Linked DNA regions of Homo sapiens: region 1 is linked to region 2. The links are contacts of gene promoters, found by promoter capture Hi-C in human tissues and cell types (Jung and others, 2019). All regions are on one chromosome and are shown on one strand. The core of a region is centred on a gene start or on the middle of the fragment in contact, and the rest is flanking DNA. Distances in the headings are between cores, read along the strand shown.

Region 1 (5,287 bases), core at 970-3,469, 870 kb after region 2:
ATGAGCATGAGGACTGCCCAGGGTCCCTTTGGGAAATGCTGAACAGAGTGTGCATGGCACATTCAACAGTTCCTTGGAGCATGGAGTACCCACGGGCAAGAGTGGGAGAGAAAGCGAGGAGGCAGGCAAAGGCCAGGGCAGGAAGGCCCCAAAAGGCCATGTGGACCTCACCACGTGATTTCTGTTTAGAAACTTTCAATGGTGCCCCATTCCAAACCCTTAAGTATGGCCTCTGTGCGTCCTGGTGTAGCCCCCAAGCTACATTTCTGATCCATTCTCAACTCCTAGTACTGTGCTACACCCATCTACACCTCACTCCTCAAAGACTCGAAGTAAACTCATGCTCTTGGCCTGATTCAAATAATTCCCTTAGGCCACTCTGGACCCCAAACCGTCTCCTCCACATCTCGGCCTGCTGAAACCGGACTTACCGTTTCTTCAGTATAATACTGCAGCCACTAACCAGTAGGAATTAAGCATGGTCCTACCTTCAAGGAGGTTAGACTCTTGTGGAAGAAAAGGATAAGTTTAGTTAACTATCGTGTAACTATAAAAGACATGGTGATGATATGTGATAGGTGTTTCCAAAAAATCACTTCACTGTAGTAACAATACAGTGGGAAATGAGTTGTCGGACTTTGCAAGGAATGTTTCAAGAATAAAAGCATTTAAACTGATCCTTGCCAGTTAAATAGGGTCCAACCAATCACAACAGACACTAATACCAGCTGATTGTTACCTTTCCATCTCTTGCTGTACCTCGTTAACAATAGAATCTCAAAAAATGCCTGCTGAATAAACCATACATATGCATAATAAACTCCAAAAGAAAGTATTAATTATGTAGAGTATCATCCTTAATGTTACTTCTCTTCATTCTAACAAAAATCTAGAGAGGATTTTATATTAGCCTTATGCCACTGAGACTGATGTCCCCAATGTCCCCTGTAACCTCAGACATGGGTTACATGAGGACCTTAGTGATTAAAAAGTCTCCACTGGCTATTTCTCCATTGATTATGGAAATGAGCAGTGAGCCCCAGCTCCCCAATTCTTACGACAGTTCAAGAACCATCACCTTGACATACTTGAGAATTAAATACTAAGCAGAACATGTTTCCTGGAGACAAGAATAATTGAATTTTCATGAAACGTAATGCAATGTTTGTTCATTCTATGTAAACACATACAGATTGCAAGTAAGGCTAGATTAATTCCTTCAAAGCACACTAGATTTCCACAAACCTAATGAAGCTGTCTGAGGTAATAAAGCCTTAGAAGTCAACATTTGAAGACTTTTTCATTTATTTCCCTATACCTGAAGTGGCAGGATAAAAATAAGATGAAAATATAGGACTTTTATATGTAAATTAATCCCAAAGTAACTTTTCCAGGAAATATACAAAAAGTTCAGAATGAAAGCAAACTATGTGTGCATACATAGGAATGAGCAGTGGCCTAGAAAACCCTGAAGTGTTTACAGCACCTCCAATCGTATCTAAAATACTAGATTCCTGTCAGTGGAGCAGGATTTTTCCCAAATCTTCATGAAAGGAGGCTGAGGCAAACAAAGCAGAAGATGAGGGGAGGACCCTGAATACCTTCATGGAGAATCACGGAAGATTTTCCAGAGAGGCACGGCAATAATGAAAGAGACAGCCCAAGGCATGTATCCAGGGATTCCAAGCAGGGCAGACTGGAGGAGGGAAACCCTGGAGGCAAGGAGACCCCTAAGAAGAGGTTCTCAGAGAAGCCCCTGTGTGCTTCTCCCGCCTCAACCTTTGAACAGGCTGTCCCTTGTGCCTGGACTAACAGGCGGCACACTACCTCCCACACGCCAAGTCTGGATCCCTAACCCTCTGGTTTTTGTAAGGCCTACAAGCTAGGAATGAATTTTACCTTTTTAAATGGTTGAAAAACATCAAAAGAAGAATACTATTCATGATGCATGGAAATCAGGGGAAATTTTCTGTATCCGTAAATAAGGAGTTATTGGAACCCGGCCACACTTCACCGATGGCCACCGCGACCTTCACACTACAACGGCATGGGGGAGCTGGAGCAGGAGACCAAGGCCGCCCCAAACCCAAATGCCTACCACTTGGCCCCTTACCAAACTAGTTTGCCCCTGCAGCCCACATCACGCTTCCCCTCCCCCACTCCCTGTTACCACCAACCCTTACTCATTCCTCACATCTCAGAGTAGGAGGCCTTTCTGAAAGCTTCCCCAAGTCACACTAGATGCCACCTCCTACTCTTCCCACAGTGCAATGTACTGCTCTCCTCACAGCAGGTGTCAGCACACACTGACATTACACATTTACCTCACCATATTTCCCACCTGACTGTGAGCTGCAGGAGGGCAGGGGCCATCTGTAGCCTCATACAGTTGACCCTTGAACAACAAAGATTGGAACTACACAGGTTCACTTCTACACGGATTGTTTTTAACCAACTGTGGGTCAAAAATACAGTATTTGCAGGATGCAAAACCCATGTATACAGAGGGCCAACTTTTCATACACACAGGTTCCTCAGGGAAGTGCAGGACTTGAGTATGTGCAGATTTTGGTATACTCAGGAGTCCTGGAATCAATCCCACATGTATACCAAGGGATGACCATATTTTCGTCATTAATTGGTACAGCTTGAGTATCTCAAATCTGAAAAACCTGAAATCTTAAATGCTCCAAAATCCAAAACTTTTTGAGGGCCCACATGATGCTCAAAGGAAATGCTCATTGGAACATTTCTGATTTCGAGTTTTCGGATTACGAATGCTAAATCAGTAAGTATAATGCAAATATTCCAAAACACACACACACAAAATCCAAAACCTAAAACATTTCTTGTCCCAAGCATTTAACATAAGAGATATGCAATCTGTACTACCAGGTATTCAGCAAATATTGAAATGAATGAATGCATGAACAATGAATGAATAAGTCAAATAAAGACCTGAACCACATGAGAACTTTTGCCTTATGCCAATGAATTCTAGTAAATTTAATAGATAAAGGAACCCAGGAGAATATTTATTTTTCTGAAACCTTATACTTTTTGGCCTTTCTCTTCTTTCTTTATAATAATTTTCATATATACACATATATAAAAAATCTTAAGTCTATGAGTTTTCTTTTTCTTTTTTTTCTTTTTTTTTTTTTTGAGATGGAGTCTTACTCACTCTGTCAGCCAGGCTGGAGTGCAGTGGCAAAGTCTTGGCTCACTGCAACCTCTGCCTCCCAGGTTCAAGCGATTCTCCTGCCTCAGCCTCCCGAGTAGCTGGTATTACAGGTGCCCACCAACACACCCAGCTAATTTTTGCATTTGTAGTAAAGATGGGGTTTCACCATGTTGGCCAGGTTGGTCTGGAACTCCTGACCTCAAGTGATCTGCCCGCCTCGGCCTCCCAAAATGCTAGGATTACAGGCGTGAGCCACGGCACCCGGCCAGTGACTTTTAACTTCACTGATGAATTCAAAATCTCTTACAGAGCTCTCTTACGCTCTCCGATCTTTCACGTGCAACTATCTCCTAGATGTTCCTACCTAGATGTCTTATAGACACTTCAGACTTAAGAGTTCAAAAGCTTGGGTGCAACCTACATAGCTTCTCTGTCTCCATCTTGTGAAATGGCATCATGAGTCACCAAGGCTAACTTAGCACCATCCTCCATTTTGCTCACTGCTTACCCTCATTCAATCCACATATCAGATATGACTGCTTCACCCCAGGTCTACTTAATAGGCATGATGTCTATAAGAATTATAAATGCATATACTGTGTGATTTAGCAATTCCACTTCAAGAAATAAATCCTATAAATGTACTTGCACGCAAAATGTGACACATGTACATAGTTATTCACTGAAACATTGTTTTTAATAGCAAAAGAGGGAAACACACAAAATGCCCATCAAGGGAGCACTGATTAAATACATTATGGTTCATACACACAATGCAATACCATGCAGCTGTGAATAGAAATGGGAATGCTTTCTAACGTGCAAACATCTCTAAAATACACTGTAAGTGAAAAAAAAAAAACAGAAAAAATGTGTGCTGCTTTGGTTTTTAAGAAGAAAGAAAAAGAATACATATTTGTATTTGCATTAAAAAACTTAAAGGATACAGAAAAACAGACATGAAAGCAGTGGGAGGGAGAGTGTACACACTCACAGGCACACTCACACCCCAAATAAATGCATGACCTATAAAATAATTGTATACAATACATGAAGAGGCGGACTCCCTTCTTCCACTTTCTCATCGCCTTCCCTTCCCAAATACGTCTCTACTGGCTGCAATAACAACAGCACAGAGTCCACACTCCTTTAGCTTTGTGTATAAAGCCTCACATGCCAGGATTCTCTGGATCTACCTCCCACCAGCACTCTCACTGTCCCCTAGGCTACCCCAACCACACTGCGATTCTTTGTCCTCAAATAAACATTCTGGATCTTTCGAAACTCTGTATCTTTGAATGTGCTATCCCATCTGCCTAGAAGGCCCTGCCTTCCTATTGTGCTGGCAAAGGCCTATGCATTCTTCAAGACGAAGGTAAAAGAACACTCTTCAAGGTAATTCTTCTGGGATAACCTCCCTGATTCTGCAGGCCACTTGCCTCCAAGCCTGATACCATATCTGCTTATGGGGCTATTTGTGAGACTGCATCCCTCATCAAACCATTCAATCCTTAAGGGCAGTTGTGCCTTGTTCATCTTCACTTGCCAAGCATCTACCTTTCTTACAAATGCTACTCAGCCTCCCTACCTTATCCTCAGTAAACATTTATTGTTTTATCCTCAATAAACTACACAGGTTCACTTCTACATGGACTGTTTTCAACCAAATGTGGGTCAAAAACACAATAAACATTTATTGAGGATAAGGTAGGGATGATGAGTAGCATTTGTACATTTTGCCTTCTTAGGTAACAAAAGCCTTCACCTAACAGTTTCCACTTCCCTGGATAATGTTCTTTAAAAATGTCTCCACCATGAGGAAGAGGTTATACTAGTGATTATGATTTAGGCAGCTTAAGGTAGAGAATGGGGGTAAAAAGCATGCTGTGGAATTCACCTACAATTCTTTGGAGGGTATCAGTGGCAGAGTATTGCTCAAAGGTTCTGTGTGTCAATTATGCTTAGGAAAGCTGCAATCAGAACTAATCTGCTCCTTCAATCCATGACCTTTTCCTCATGCCAAGAAGGTGGTCCCCTTGCACACAAAGCCTGGTGATAACTCTTAAAAGGCACACAATCTGGCCCCCTCTCTGCCCACTGCTA
Region 2 (4,933 bases), core at 1,784-4,283:
TTTATCGACTTTGTTTAGCACAAGGAAAGCCATTGCATTTATGATGCTCTTGAGGTTAGTGGTTTGGGGGAGTCAGAAAGCCAACCACTGTGTGTGTATGTTCACAAAGCCAATAATTAGTCTAAGGCCAAAAGTGACACCGTGGAGGTGGTTGTGAGGGTGACAATCCTGTTCTGAATGCACAACTCAACCCCAAGTCCCAGGGGTACCTGGCATCTGCGTAACCTCATCTGAAGGGTGCAAGGGTGGCTGCTCATCCTCCAACCCCACATGGATGAGGGTATCTTGGAATTCTAGACACTCAGATTTGATGTTTGCCAGGAGAACTACCAGAATATGATCGTTAAGGATTGGGGGAGGGTTTAAAAATACTGAGGAGACCTGAAATTGTATGAATGCTGAGGGGAAGCAGTGCTAGACATCTTTAGGGTCTTTCTCTAGCACTCAGCAAGGGATGTGGCAAAGACGGCCTTTGGATAGTTAAGTGGTCAGCAGCCTCTCTCCAGGGAACTCTGGCTGGAGTCCCTACCTTTTTGTACTCTAGTGCAGGTACAGCCAAGGAAACAGAAAATGATCATGCAGTGTGAGGAGCACTACAACAAGGCAAACTCCTTGCAAGACAACTGGGGAGTCAGTGGAGGGAGACTGGGCAGGGAAGAAAGATGGCAGAGGAAGATGATAGGGAAGAAAGATGGAAGCCAAATGGCAGAAGCTTAGTGATGAAGAGGAGGAGAGGAGAAACAACAGTGGAAGGCAGGGAGGGTAGATTGGTGTTGGGGGAAGGTTTTTTAAAAATACTGGAGACCTCAAATTGTATGGATGCTGAGGGAAAGAGCAGTGCTAGAGGCAGGGTCCAGCTTGTATAGGCCTTGTCAGTTTCAGCTTGCAATTTATCCAAAAAGCAAAGAGAAGTAGCCATATAAGGGCTTTGTGCAAATAATTTGATTTCGGATTTTAGCCCTGAAATGCTCATTCTGACTGCACTGTAGAGAATGGACTGGAAAGGGGTACATACACGGGTAGATTCAAGGGCTGTTTAAGAGGTAGGATAGAAAATATTTGCTCAAGGATCGGATTTGATGATTGAGGGAGAGAAACAAGGAAGCCTCAAGAATGATGCCCATGTGTCTGGTGTACCACCTGCGTGCAAAGTGATGGTATTCATTGAGGTAGGGAACTCCTGAGATGCACCAGGTTTTCCAGGAAAGTGATACATCTCATGTTAGACATGATGAGCGTGTGTTGTCACTGGGATGTGACAAATGAGGATAGCCAGTAGGCACTTAGATACGGGAATCTGCAATTCTGGAAAAGATCTTGGCTAAAGACCCAGATTTGGGAGGTGTCAGGATATAGATGGAATTTGAAAACTATGGGAGTTCCTCAGACAATCAAGGAATATTGCGCTGCACTGGAGGAAACCACAGAGTGTTCAATGTCAAGGAGGCCTAGGAAAAATACCTTCAAAGACAGAGTTCAATGCTTCCAAAAGGTCAGGTAAATAAGAACTGAATCCTGTCTTTTGGCCTGAGCACAGGCCTTGGAGACCGTGACCTCCACTTTCAGTAGAATGATGAGGCGGAAGCCAGATGGCAGATACTTAGTGATGAAGGGGAGGAGAGGAGGAGTAACAGCAGGAGTGGGGACATAGGTTGGGGGAGGTTTTTAAAAAAATACTGAAGAGACCTGAAATTGCATGAATGCTGAGAAGACCCACTATTAGCAAGCAGGAGCTTGAAGCTGCAAGAGGAAGAGTACGTAAGAGTCACAGCAAAGCCCCGGAGAACAAGGCAACGCAGAAGCCTGGTTTGGAGATGCAGAGGGAGGAGGGACCTTTCCAACTTCAGTAACAAGAAGAAAGAGGAAAAGATAGATAAGGTTGCAGGCAGGTTCATAGATTGGTAGCAGAAAATTGAGAGAATTTCTAACCAATGGCATCTTTTTTTTTCTTCTTTATAACATTGGGAGATTGAGTGGCAGGGTCAGAAATTTGAAGACAGTAAAGAAGGTTAGAAATAGCCATGTTTGACTGGGTGCGGTGGCTCACGCCTGTAATCCCAACACTTTGGGAAGCCAAGGAGGGTGGATCACCTGAGGTCAGAAGTTCGAGACCAGCCTGGCCAACATGGTAAAGCCCCATCTCTACTAAAAATACAAAAATTAGGCGGGCATGGTGGCATGCACCTGTAGTTCCAGCTACTTGGGAGGCTGAGGCAGAAGAATCACTTGAACCCGGGAGGTGGAGGTTGCACTCCAGCCTTTGCAACAGAGCAAGACTTCATCTGAAAGATAGAAAGATGAAAGAAAGAAAGAAAGAAAGAGTAAAAGAAAAAAATTAAAATTTTAGGGGGAAAATTTTCTAATTTTTGAACATGCACTAAAATGATTTTCAGAGAAAACCAAGTGTTATTTTCTAATCTGCATGGCATTATTAAAGATGTTTACTCATCTTCCTTGGGGCTAGGCATCCCATTCCTGCAGGAAGTCTTGTGGTTAGGCGGTGGCTGTGGCTCTGGGATGATTCAGGAATGCAGACCATGCCTTATTTGCACAGGAGGGACACGTTGCTCTCACTGCATGCATGGTCACAACTGTCTGTGTGACCTGTCTGTGGGAGGGCAGACCCCCCTCCTGCCAAGCCACAGTAGCAGCTGACCTGCCAGGCAAAAGCATTCCTTTGTAAAGGAAACCCTCCCAGACCCTCTGACCAAAGGGGACGGGTGGGGACTTCCTGGCACTGCAGGGCCCCTTGCCTGGTACTCCCAGCAACTGGTTGCGGTGGGGAGGGCAGATCTAGGGATGGGGATGGGGAGGAGAAGTGGGAATGGGAAATTGGGAGTCAGAGGGGCAAGTGGGAGAGAAGGGCGCACCTGCCGGGATAACAGGCCAGATGAAGTAAATAGAAAATCCTCTGAGCTCCCCTACTGGCTCCAGCTGTGGAGAAGGGGGAGGAGAAAACCCTGTGGGACAGGGGAGGAGGGTGAGGGCTCCTCTTAGGAAGTTATTTAAGAGCCAACTGTCTTGTCTTTCCCGAGTCCGTTTGAGGAAGTCCCCGAGGCGCACAGAGCAAGCCCACGCGAGGGCACCTCTGGAGGGGAGCGCCTGCAGGTAAGCCACCGACCCTGCACCCTATGAGCCAGGGCCCGCTGCGTCCACCTTCTGCACCTCGGTTTCCTGGTTGAACCAGCAAGCGGCTTGCTCTGGGCCCTGTGGCGCCGGTCACAGGCAGCTCCACTTGCCCAATCCTGGCTTCCCGCCCCCAACTCCGCACCTGCCCAGCCCAGCTTCTAAGCGGGACTTCTCTCAGGCTCTCGAGGCAGCTCTCCCGAAGCCGTTGCTTGCTTAGAATGCCACCAAATGGGGATGGGGGAGTTGGAGGTGCTTCCCCAAGGGACGAGCCCCCTTTCCTCAGGGAGCAGATTATGGAGCTGGAACACAAAAGGTGGAGGGAGTGGGGCCAAGTGAGAACAGCCTGCTAGACTGGAACCCCGCCGGCTTGGCTCCCCACTCCTGCGCGCCTCCCCACTCCTGCGCATCGCCTGCCTCCGTCCCAATTTGGAGCTGAACTCGAGCCACTTCTCCTCCTTAGACCCGCCCAGAAGCGAGGGCTCCTGCCCGCCGCACTCACCCAGCCAGGCGTGCACCTGGGGCTCCCCCCTTCTCCCCCTTAGCACTGTGTCTCCCGACAGCGCGCCACACTGTTCTGCACCCCTGGCAATGCCGCAGCCTACCTTCGGTATTTCTCACTAGAGGATGGCTCTCGCAGCCTTCTCCCTATCATTAACCCTTTTTCGCTCTTCTCCCTCCCTTCCCCCGTCAGCTCACCAATGACTGTAAATATATTTATCTATACTTATGGATACCCATTCACACCTTATGCATCCAAACACTCCTGTCTCCTTCTCAGACCAGACACCTTAGGCGTGGTTGTCTTTTCTCCAGCATGTTGTTAGTGCTCCACATGTCTCTGGAACCATCTCTCTACTCTGGTGGCCTCTATAATGGGGACTCTTCACCTCTTGGGGGTGTGCCTGGTTTTTGAAAATAGCCAAGTCTCCAGGAGTCATGACTGGGTAATCCAGGGGATCAAGGGGGAACCTTCACTGGGCCCAGAAACAAAGTCCCCCTTCATTTGGTCATTTGGTCAACAAGTACTTACTGGGCACTGACCGTCAGGTGTGTGTTGTTTAAACTGGCTCAGTGCCTGCACAAGCTCCAAGGGAAGGGGAAGCAGGCTTGGGGAATGGGAAATGTTGGCAACCCTGACTTCTTAAGCCTATTGATAGCCCTATTGAAAATTGCATGCCCAACCTCTCCACCTCCTTATCCTCCTCCATGTGGCTCAATTTCCAAAGCAGTTCCTACCTCCTCACCCCTAAGTGGATTTACTTATGGCTCTTCTTGGGCTCCACCCTAACCCTATCAGACTATAATCTATCAGAGCAAACATTCTGTTTTGTTCTCTGATGTATCCCATGTACCTAGATCACAGCCTGGCATGTCATAGGCCCTCAATAAATATTGGTTGAATTAAATTGCAAATGTAAACGCTTTAGAAGACAACATTTGTCTGGACATGGTTGTGTGCGTTTATTCTTAAAAGTGACTTATAATCTCATAAATCTGTATGAAATGAACATAGATACAGCACATGCATATAACAGGAAACATTTCTTGCGAAGATGCTGCTGTAGGATTATGGAGGGTGGGGGAATCTGGGTCTCCAAAAATCTTTTAATTTTTAAATTTCTTTGAATAAGCCCCTTTTCTTCTGCTTTCCATATGTTTTGACACATACAAAAATCTCCCCAAGATCCTTGGGGAACTGTATTCCATCATTAGACTAATCCTTGCTGCCACTTCTCAGTTTTTATTTATGCAAACGGCAAAATGTGTTGCTCAAGTGCTATCACACACAGATATATCTGTTTCT

What was found. Contacts are between HindIII fragments. The study calls those that stand out against the background at their distance.
Region 1: a contact is called between a fragment that was not itself captured here and the fragment with the promoter of F13A1 in region 2, in 1 of the 25 tissues and cell types used here (dorsolateral prefrontal cortex).

The regions. Positions count from the first base shown.
Region 1 is chr6:5,447,231-5,452,517 of GRCh38, reverse strand. All of the region lies in intron 4 of FARS2 (phenylalanyl-tRNA synthetase 2, mitochondrial), which reads right to left. FARS2-AS1 (FARS2 antisense RNA 1) reads left to right here. Exons shown (of 2, transcript NR_125848.1): 2 at 1-50. Among named protein-coding and RNA genes, the nearest start is that of FARS2-AS1, 8.2 kb to the left of the region's middle. The HindIII fragment of the contact is 5,037 bases long and covers 1-4,737 here.
Region 2 is chr6:6,318,762-6,323,694 of GRCh38, reverse strand. F13A1 (coagulation factor XIII A chain) reads left to right here and starts at 3,033. Exons shown (of 15, transcript NM_000129.4): 1 at 3,033-3,108. All of the region lies in intron 1 of LOC124901253 (a long non-coding RNA gene), which reads right to left. The HindIII fragment of the contact is 8,313 bases long and covers 1-4,933 here.